2 separate regions of the Homo sapiens genome follow, and region 1 is linked to region 2. Evidence: promoter capture Hi-C in 16 types of primary human blood cells and fetal thymus (Javierre and others, 2016). All regions are on one chromosome and are shown on one strand. The core of a region is centred on a gene start or on the middle of the fragment in contact, and the rest is flanking DNA. Distances in the headings are between cores, read along the strand shown. Region 1 overlaps TGFBRAP1 (transforming growth factor beta receptor associated protein 1). Region 2 holds the start of MRPS9-AS1 (MRPS9 antisense RNA 1).

The links. The method cuts DNA at HindIII sites, captures the fragments that hold promoters and counts their contacts. A CHiCAGO score of 5 or more calls a contact.
Region 1: a fragment that was not itself captured here is called in contact with the fragment with the promoter of MRPS9-AS1 in region 2 in 2 of 17 cell types (naive B cells and total B cells); the score reaches 5.4 in naive B cells.

What each region holds. Positions count from the first base shown.
Region 1 is chr2:105,265,155-105,269,743 of GRCh38, forward strand. It overlaps TGFBRAP1 (transforming growth factor beta receptor associated protein 1), which reads right to left. Exons shown (of 12, transcript NM_004257.6): 11 at 4,118-4,551; 12 at 1-2,405. The coding sequence ends at 2,229. Among named protein-coding and RNA genes, the nearest start is that of GPR45, 26 kb to the left of the region's middle. The HindIII fragment of the contact is 1,843 bases long and covers 380-2,222 here.
Region 2 is chr2:105,101,564-105,106,109 of GRCh38, forward strand. MRPS9-AS1 (MRPS9 antisense RNA 1) reads right to left here and starts at 1,381. Exons shown (of 4, transcript NR_110227.1): 1 at 1,273-1,381. LOC105373527 (a long non-coding RNA gene) reads left to right here and starts at 194. Exons shown (of 3, transcript XR_923138.3): 1 at 194-3,200; 2 at 3,478-3,644; 3 at 3,736-3,916. RefSeq lists enhancers at 1,937-2,798, 2,799-3,659. The HindIII fragment of the contact is 13,539 bases long and covers 1-4,546 here.

The sequences.
Region 1 (4,589 bases), core at 51-2,550, 160 kb after region 2:
AATGTTCAGTGAAAAAATAAAAATGACTAGTGTTGGCTGGGCGCAGTGGCTCACGCCTGTAATCCCAGCACTTTGGGAGGCCGAGGCAGGCAGATCACGAGGTCAGGAGACCGAGACCATCCTGGCCAACATGGTGAAACCCCGTCTCTACTAAAAATACAAAAATTAGCTGGGCGTGGTGGCATGCACCTGTAGTCCCAGCTACTCGGGAGGCTGAGGCAGCAGAATCGCTTGAACCCAGGAGGTGGAGGTTGCAGTGAGCCGAGATTGCGCCACTGCACTCCAGCCTGGGTGACAGAGTGAGACTCTGTCTGTGTGTTAGGAATGAGAAATTACTAAGTTTTTTCAAGATTTTACCCATTTTGTGTACAGAGAAATAAGCTTTTAATGGCGCAATGTTGCATATACGGGTAACTTGTTCTTTGAGAAATATAAACTCAAACTCACAAGTTGTCATGATAACATATGCAGTAATATGACCATTCTACAACAGAGTCACCCACAGGTAAAACACATGACTGGGCTTTGAGCTCACACCAATTTACACAGCATACAGTTGTGCTACAAGGAGAATTTCTTCATCATTTATTCTTTAGTTAATTGAAACATAGTCAGGAAAAAATGGTGCCAATTCCCCCCAAACAACACATGGATGTTTTTGCTTCTTGACCCACTTAGAGTCCCAAAAGGACAAAAAATACATGGACCAATATTAGTTCACGAAACATGTTTTAAAGAACAGAGAATGAGGTCTTCATCCCACCTCAGTAAGGCTTGGGCTGATGAAGAGAGGGTGTATTCAGGGTCCTCTCTTGTCATATGTACAAGCTGACGCTTGTTTCCCAAGCATGATAGTAGTGGGTAGACTGCCTTTATTGTTAGCCCCTAATAGAATCAGTCAGCACAATGAAGAAATTCCAAAGAGGGCAGTGAAGTGACAACAGCTTCAGCTCGTCATCGATGTTATACAGAAACACAAAAGGAATCCCCGGCCTGTGATGAAGGAGAGGCCGTTGCTGTGTGTTCAGGACACCTCAGAGCAGGCACATAAAGTGCTGGAGGGTGACACAGCCTGTCTGGATGTCCTCGGGAGGGTGTGCCATCCAGGAGGCGACACCCCCATCCAGCACACGGGCCCTTCCACCCGCTGTCGGTCCTGCTAAAGGTACGAGGCTAAAACCGGCCTCTCCAGAAAAGAACGCTCAGTGTGTGCTGACCACACTTCCCTTTGAATTTCCCGAGTATTCAACAGGAGATACATTTTAACAAGAAAAAATACCCCTAACAAACAGGACAGATGACTCTCTCAACAAGAGAGCAACTACGAACATGATACAAATTTAAATAAAAATGTTTAGTTCAACGTGTTCGTCATGGAGTTTCAAATCAGCAGATGCCATGACAGGAAAGGAGCACACAGCTGGGCCCTTGCCCGCCGTGGGTTTCCCGTGTCCGCGGCTTCTTCAAGGAGGGGAGAGCAGCTTCTCTCTTGGAGCGTTCTCAGTTTCTCAACAGATCTTCACTTGCTAGGCAGCCAGAAGCATTAGTTCACCCAAGAGTGAGTGCTTGGGTACACAAGGCAGAATCTTTTGGGAGCTGAGAGCCGGAGAGGAAGAAAGAAGGAACAAAGGTACTTCTCCAGGGTCAGCCGTTTCTGAGGGCAAAGGCAGAGCCCACGAGGTAACCCTGGGAAATGGGCCCATGAGTGAGCGGCGTGGATGGAGAACGTGTTTCTGCAGGAGGGCAAGGCTGACCCCCATGAGGCTCTGTGCCCTCGCCACTCACCCAGGCAAGAGAGGACTTTGTCGCCAGCCATGGTGAAGCCACGTTTCCAGTGCAAACATGAGTCTAAAGGTTGGAGTGTGGGGGTGGTGGGGGATCCCCCACCTGGGTCTGGACTGCATGAGGAAGACTCCCTTTTTTTTTTTTTCAAAGTAGACCTCTGTCTTGGATTACTATGTACCTGGACAGGTGAACTCTTGTATGTTTCTGTTTTGGGGATTTTTAGGGGTTTTCCATGTACATTCATAGAGCCTGGTCATTCCATGTACATTCATAGAGCCTGGTCAGCAGCGAGGAGTCCTTGTTGCGTATGGACGGAAGGCTCCCTGGCACCCAGATGTCTCCCTTCGTCCTGGCTGACACAGAGCATGGTGGTCATCTGCTCTTCATGTCCAGCAGGCTCAGAAAGAACTCGGAGTTCCCCTCGCACCCTTGGGCCAAGCTTTTCAAGTCCGAGTGCCAGGACTGGATGAGCTGGGGTTTGTGTGTCTGCTGGCGGCACAGTGGGTGTGCACAAGACCACCATTTGGGTATCTAACAAACACAGGCTCACAAAAGGGATTTTGGCATATCTGACAAAGCTTTTTGTCTGAGAGTTGGATTGAGCTTCCTTTCAACTTCATCTGCAAGAAGAAACCAAGACTGAGAATGCTGTCATGTGTTAAGTATATTTAAAGTGGCTACGTTCTAGTTTTGCAGAGTTGACATGCATTACTCCATGGGTTATTATTATGATGAGGATTTCTTTAATATCAACTTCTTGAAATGAAATGCTAAAGGTGTAAATAAAACCATCCTTAGTAACTGGACAAGGAAGAAAGTTACACAATTGCTTTTCTTATTTCACAAAAGTAATTGTTGCTTGTCTGGCTGAGGCATTTCTACTTAAGATCCTCTCTCCAACATTCTCTGGCTCTGATCATTTCAAGCAAGGCCTGTTAGAAAGTCATGAATGTTAATGCTGAATGAGACCATATAATAGTGTAACTCCAGGGTTCTCTCATTTGCAAATAAGAAAAGTAAAGCACAAACAAATAAGGGATGTAGTCAAAGTTACACAGCTAACAAGTGGCATATTCCTGGTTGGTCCTGGGAGACACCCTTCCGTTTCCTTAGAGGTAACTGGTGAAACTGAGTCTTAATGCCATCGGTCCCTGTCTGATCAACAGGACTTGAGTTCTGAAAGTTATAAAGTTTTTCTACACAATTCACTCGTGTCAACCGAGGCAGGTTGGTCTATTGGCAGGATCAAGCAGCAACTTAGCGATTCATCCTGCACTCCTTAGTTGCATCAGTCATTCCACAAACACGGATTAGATGCCTTCGACATGGCAGGCTTAGCCCTACAGACACTGAGATAAAGAAATGAAGTTCCCTGTCCTCAAAGAACCCAAACTCTAATAGTAGCGGGTAACAGCTGTGAATGCGAACACCAAGTAAAAGTGGGTGAAAGAGAAGGTGATTACTCTACTTAAGAGGTATGAGATGGCTTCACCAAGGGAAAAAAATAAAGGCTAAATTTTGACTGGGCATTTGCTGGGGACAAAGAAAAAGGTAAGAATATCTCAGGCAGTGGGTACAGCATTTACAAAAGCAACAAAGTATGAAATACCAAATCACATCTGGAAGGTTGTGCTAAAGCCAGGACATGAGCTGGGAAGCAGAGAGAGGTGGGGAGGGATATGCTGAAGGAGGTGGGACTGCATCTTCCAGGACAGGGAGCGTCAGCAAAGGCTTCTAAGTGGGAGGGGAACACGTCGGATACCCGCTCTGGAAAGAAGACTCTGCCAGCCATGTGGAATTTAGGCCCACAAGAAAGAAGTCTCCCGAAGGTGAGTACAGTGTGGGGACGAAGAATGTGGGGTTCTCAACTGGCCTGGGAGGCAGCTCTGGGCACGCCCATTTCCTGAGCATGCGACTGCTCTCTGCCTCAATTTCCTCTCCTGTGAAATGGAGATGCTGACAGTAAATACTGCATAAAACTGTCATGATGACAAAATGCAAGCATGACGTAAAATGCCTAGGTCAGTGCCTGGCACACAGCACATGCTGGGTAAGCGCCTGATATTCTGATGCTGCTCTCCTCCCTACAGACTCTCTTAATCACCAGCGTCCAAAAGGGGAGAAAAACTACACCGATGTTACACCTACCAGCCCAGCCTCTGCCTCTGCTCACACAGACCTCAGTTTCTATGAGTAGGATCAGATATTGATGTGTTGTAGTCATAGAGACAGAAAAAAGAAAAACCAACAAAGACTATTTTTCCATCAGTAAAATCTACCTTCAGTACAATGTTGACTGACCAGGAAGCAGCTCGTGGGGGCCAGCACTTACCTTATCGTAGGTGTAGATTAAGTTTTCGGACCTGGCCAGGCCGAGAGCCACCTGCATGGTCCTCCTGGCATGGATGCTGTCCCTCATGGCCCCCATCAGGAATGGGCAGAGGAGCTGCACTGACCAGGTGTCAGGCAGCATCTGCAGCACCTGGGCTGCATCAAATTCGGTGGCGTGGCGGTTCAGCAGGTCCACGGCAGCCACGGCCAGCTCGTGGGCAGTGGGGCCAGCATGCAGGTAGATGGCCAGCAGCGTGTGAAAGAGTTGCTGGCGGTGGGGTGGGTCTCGGCCCTCGGAGCACCACAGGCAGTAGTCCTCGGCCGCTGCAAAGTCCTGCAGCTCGTGCACCAGGATATGCAGCGCCTTCTCATGCTCGCCCAGCTTCCCGTGCAGGATGGCGCTCTCCATGGGCAGGCCAGCTCCCTGCAGCCTCTCTGCAAGACAGAACCTGCAGCTCAGAAAGAAAGGGGCT
Region 2 (4,546 bases), core at 131-2,630:
CATGGTGAAACCCCATCTCTACCAAAAAATACAAAAATTAGCCGGGTGTGGTGGCATGCGCCAATAGTGCCAGCTACTCGGGAGGCTGAGGTGGGAGAATCGCTGGAACCCAGGAGGCAGAGGCTGCAGTAAGTCGAGATTGTGCCACTGCACTCCAGCCTGGGTAACAGTCAGATCCTGTCTCAAAAAAAAAAAAAAAAAATCCATTTCAATGCAGTTATTTTAAGTAAAAATATTGCTTCAAGAATTAGACCCTCAATGCTCAATTATCCTTTATATAAAGAGTTGTATGCCACTGATTTCTTCATAAGTGTCTTTTTAAAATAATCTTGAATAAGTTCTGAGACATGTATATACACATCAAATCCTTTATGAGGTAAAATAAAATAACATGGTGATGAACAAGTGAGAGTGAGTACCCAGTACCCTGCGGTACCCAGTGCCCTTTTCATTTCAGATGAAACTGTAGAAAATACTTTCTGGGGTTTTTTCTGTGTGGCGGTCATTCTCTAGTGAAATTGTCTGTGGCAGGTTTTGGTCGGTGGTGTTGATTTAGCCTGTATCTGTTGGAGTATACTTTTTACCATTTTGACAAGAGAGAAGTGACAAGTGGTTACCCCACGTGGCGTGGGTGTGCTGAGATGGGATGGCGGGCAGCCCTGCCGGCACGGATCGCCCGCTTGCTGAGCTCTTGCCATACCTGGTGTCCTGGGGCAGTGCAGAGCTGCCTGAAGTATATGCCATCTGGCCCTGCATCAGCTACTGTTGGTATCGTGGAGGAGACAAAGTCCTCAAGTCTAACGGGAGACCTGGAGTGCTGCTCGTACAGTGCCAGGAGGAGAGCTGAGGAAGGGGGCCCTGAGGACAGTAGCACTCTGAGGAGGAGGTGGTGGGGAAAAAAGAGGCCATGAAAGGAGAGGGTGGGAGTACAGATGGAGAAAATGGCGAGAAAGGAGGAAGGAAAGTTCAGGAAATGTGCAGGGAGTGAAGCCAGGCGGGCCAGGGCATTGCTGGGGAGGGACGAGGTCCCTGCGGAAACCAGCTGGGAAGGAGGCTGAGGTGGATTTGTGGAGGGTCTGAAATTCATGGTGATGTTCCTGCACTGCCAAAGGGGAATCAGCCTTTTTTTCTCCTTTGAGAGAACAGATGAGGGTTGAAATTAGAACTGTGTTTTTAAACTATATTTTAGCAACCTTTAAAATATATGTATATATATATTAAGTAGAGTCATAGTGCATAATATAACAACAAAATCGGAGCCTTAACTCTCACCTTCTTCTGGGCCTCAGGAACCCCGAGCTCATGGGAAAAGTCTTGAGGATCTCCCCATCAGGAAGGTCACGGAGGGACTGCAGGAGCAGGGAGTTGCTAGAAGGAAGAGACCTGCCAGGCAGCTATTGTACATGGAGGGGATGGGACCCAGTGCAGGGAACAGAAAGGAAGTAGGTGTGAGAAACGTTGCCACTCTCACCTGGACCAAGTGCGATAGCTGATTGGCTGCAGGAGAGCTGGGGGCGGGTATTCGGTATGAGATCCACAGGCTGCTGGGAATGCAAAGAGCCAGGAAGACAGGAAGAAAAGTTGATGGGAGGAGGAGGAGACACCAGAGGGGTCGGCTCGGGTTTCAGGTGTTCGGGGCCACCTCATATGAGATGCTTGAAATAATTGGACTGTGACTCAGGCGACGGGTCAGCCTGCTGACAGATTTGGGAGGCTGCTGCGTGGAAGGGGAATTTGAAACGTGGGCTGGATCAGCACGGAGGATTGGGCAGGGAGAAGGCCAAGGCTCAAGTGGAGAAACAGCCATCAAGTTTAAAGTAGGAAGGAGGGAAGAGCCAGCAAAGGGGGTGGTGAGCGGTGATAGGAAGACAGCAAGCCAGGCACAGCGGTCAGGGACGTCAGTGATGACCAAGAAGCGGCCTCCAGGAGAGGCGAATGTTACAGGTGCCTTTCCCCGTGAGGTCTGGAAGAAATACTGGCTTGTAACCTCGCAGGCCACTGTACCCCTTGAGTCTCAATTTCTTTGAGTCAAATTGGGGTCATTTTCTGCCCTACCAGCCCCATCTGCCCTTGTGTGACGATCAAGTAAGATAAGTGTAAAACCACCGGCCATCTGCTCCATTCCAGCTGTAATAGGAACTAGACTGTGGACAGTGTTGATGTGAGGCCTCCAGGGAAGAGGATTAAAGTATATCGGAGCTCTTGTTCCTTTGTTCAGGCTTGACACAGTCTCCTTTGTCACCAGGTTTGTTAACCACAGGAGCACTGAGCTTCTCAGACATCCCACACCTTTGTGGGAAATACCTGTTGGGAAGTATTTTTGACACACACTGTGTGCATACATTGGGAAGAGCTCTCTAGTGGCTATTTTTTTTTAATAGGCATTTGACAAGATTATTGCCTTAAGGCGACAGTGAGAGCTAATGCTTCTGTAGCTCCTATTCTGTTCCAGATACTGTTCTAAATACAAGTAACGCATTCGATCCTCTCAGCCAACCCTATGAGGTAGATATTGAGAAAATTAGTGCTCAGAGAGGTTCAATAACTTGCCCAAAGTCCTAGAGCTAGTGAGTGCCCAAGCCAGGTTGGAACCTAGAATCCCGGCTCCAGAGCCAGTGCTCTGAACCACTGTGGAAGAATACCAGGCGGGCTATGACGGCATGCAAGCCAGGCACACAGCCTGTGCTAAAACCGTCTGTGAAAGGAGAGAAGACTGCATTGGTACAGTCAGAAGACTTGATGGGAGAGGTGGATGTCAGCCAGATCCTAATGGATGGGTGTTGATTAGTAAGCACTATACTATGCTCTCCAACCAAGCTAGAACCCTCATCTTATTCAGGAAGGCGATGTCATAACCACTCCATCAAGCTGGGATCATTATGAGGACAGTCAGTGGGCCATACGATTGGAGGAAAGCATTCCGGGCAATGTGATGGGAAGAGCTATGAGAGCCCAGGGATGAAGTCAAGGTGACTGTGCCACCTGTTTGCCCAGTGTGGCCCCACCATCCCGCCATCCCAGTGTGACTACTAGATAGTTCCCCCTTTTACTCTCAAGTGTCCCAGTTTGAATGACAAATCATGAGTTTGAGGAAGTCTGCCAAACATTGAAATCATTTGCAGAGTGTCACAGATGTGTGCGTTGTTTCTGGGCATAGGTCCCTTGTTCAGAACATGCCCTAAGGGGGCCATCCCCATGGCGTAAGGAGTTTGGTTTTTGTTTTTTGTTTTTTTAAGGAAAATGAGCCTAGCCTTTGTGTGCAGCACAGAATCCAGTGGGGGAAGTGCAGCAGGTGTTGGTAGGAGGCTCCGGAGATAAGGCCTGTACCAGGTGGGAGGGGAAGGCGGGCCCCCAAGACTGCAGAGGTATTGGTGGTGATGTTTATCTGAAGCTGGGAGGTGGTTGCCTTAGTGTCCACTTTATTATACCTTCCAAATACGACTCACATGCTTATTATGCACTACTGTATCGTAAAAGTAGATGAAAAACCACCTGAAGAAGTATGTACATGGTCCAGAACACGGGCTCTGGAGTTCCTGTGTGACTTTGGACGAGTTGATCACCTTAAACCTCTACTGCTCATTTGTGAAGGAGAGAGAATAGCAACACCTGTCCAAGGATTTCGAGGATTTGCAACAATCCACGTGAGCCACTTAGTCTATAGGAAGAGCTCTATAAACATTGGTTATGATTCTCTTCCCCCCTCAGAAAATCCCTTCTTAACTTCTGTCATAGGGTTCAACAAGGGTGCACAGAGACCCAAGAGTGTGGAAGAGGAAGCCATAGAGTGATGGAATAAATAACTGGTTTCCTTGAAAATGAATGGCAAAGTCATCTGGTACATTTTCCCTCCTTTTTTTAGCACTAAGTTCATTGACCTGACTACTCAGAAAAAATTAAAACATGATGATATCAATGTTGGAGTGATTTGATGTTGTAGACCAGATGTTTTTATGCCAGTTAAAATACCTCAGCTAGTCTCCATTCAGGAAACCCCACAGACATTGAGTGTGTTCAGCCTCTCACAGAACCATCAGAACCATATTAGGTAGCTCCTGCTAAGAACTTATAAATATTTATAAGAAAGGATCAGTATATTGTTTTTATAAATATTGAAGTTTAATAGAAAGGCTATAATGCATCCTCCAAAATTAAGAGGCAAGGAGTAATAATAATAATCAGGCAAACAATTATTGCCACCTTTGCTCAATAACTTTGTAGGCTACAGAAGTGTAGCTTAAGGCTTTCTTCTTATTCTAAGTCTTCGGTTAAAACACTTTAAATGCAATAAACCCATTACTAAAAATTGAAAGTAATCTTTGAACACTAAGCTATAAAAATTACTGAAACTCAACTCAAAATCAAAATGAATACAAAAGCAAAATCTTACAATGAATTTTTCTGTCATTTCACAGAAAATACAGATTAATACTGAGGTATGAAATATTAAAATATATTTTAAAAATAATTCAAGTCATGTTACTGCATTACTTTTCCTTCAATACAGGCCATTAGCCTTTTAAACTAAATAATAAGATTAATGTCA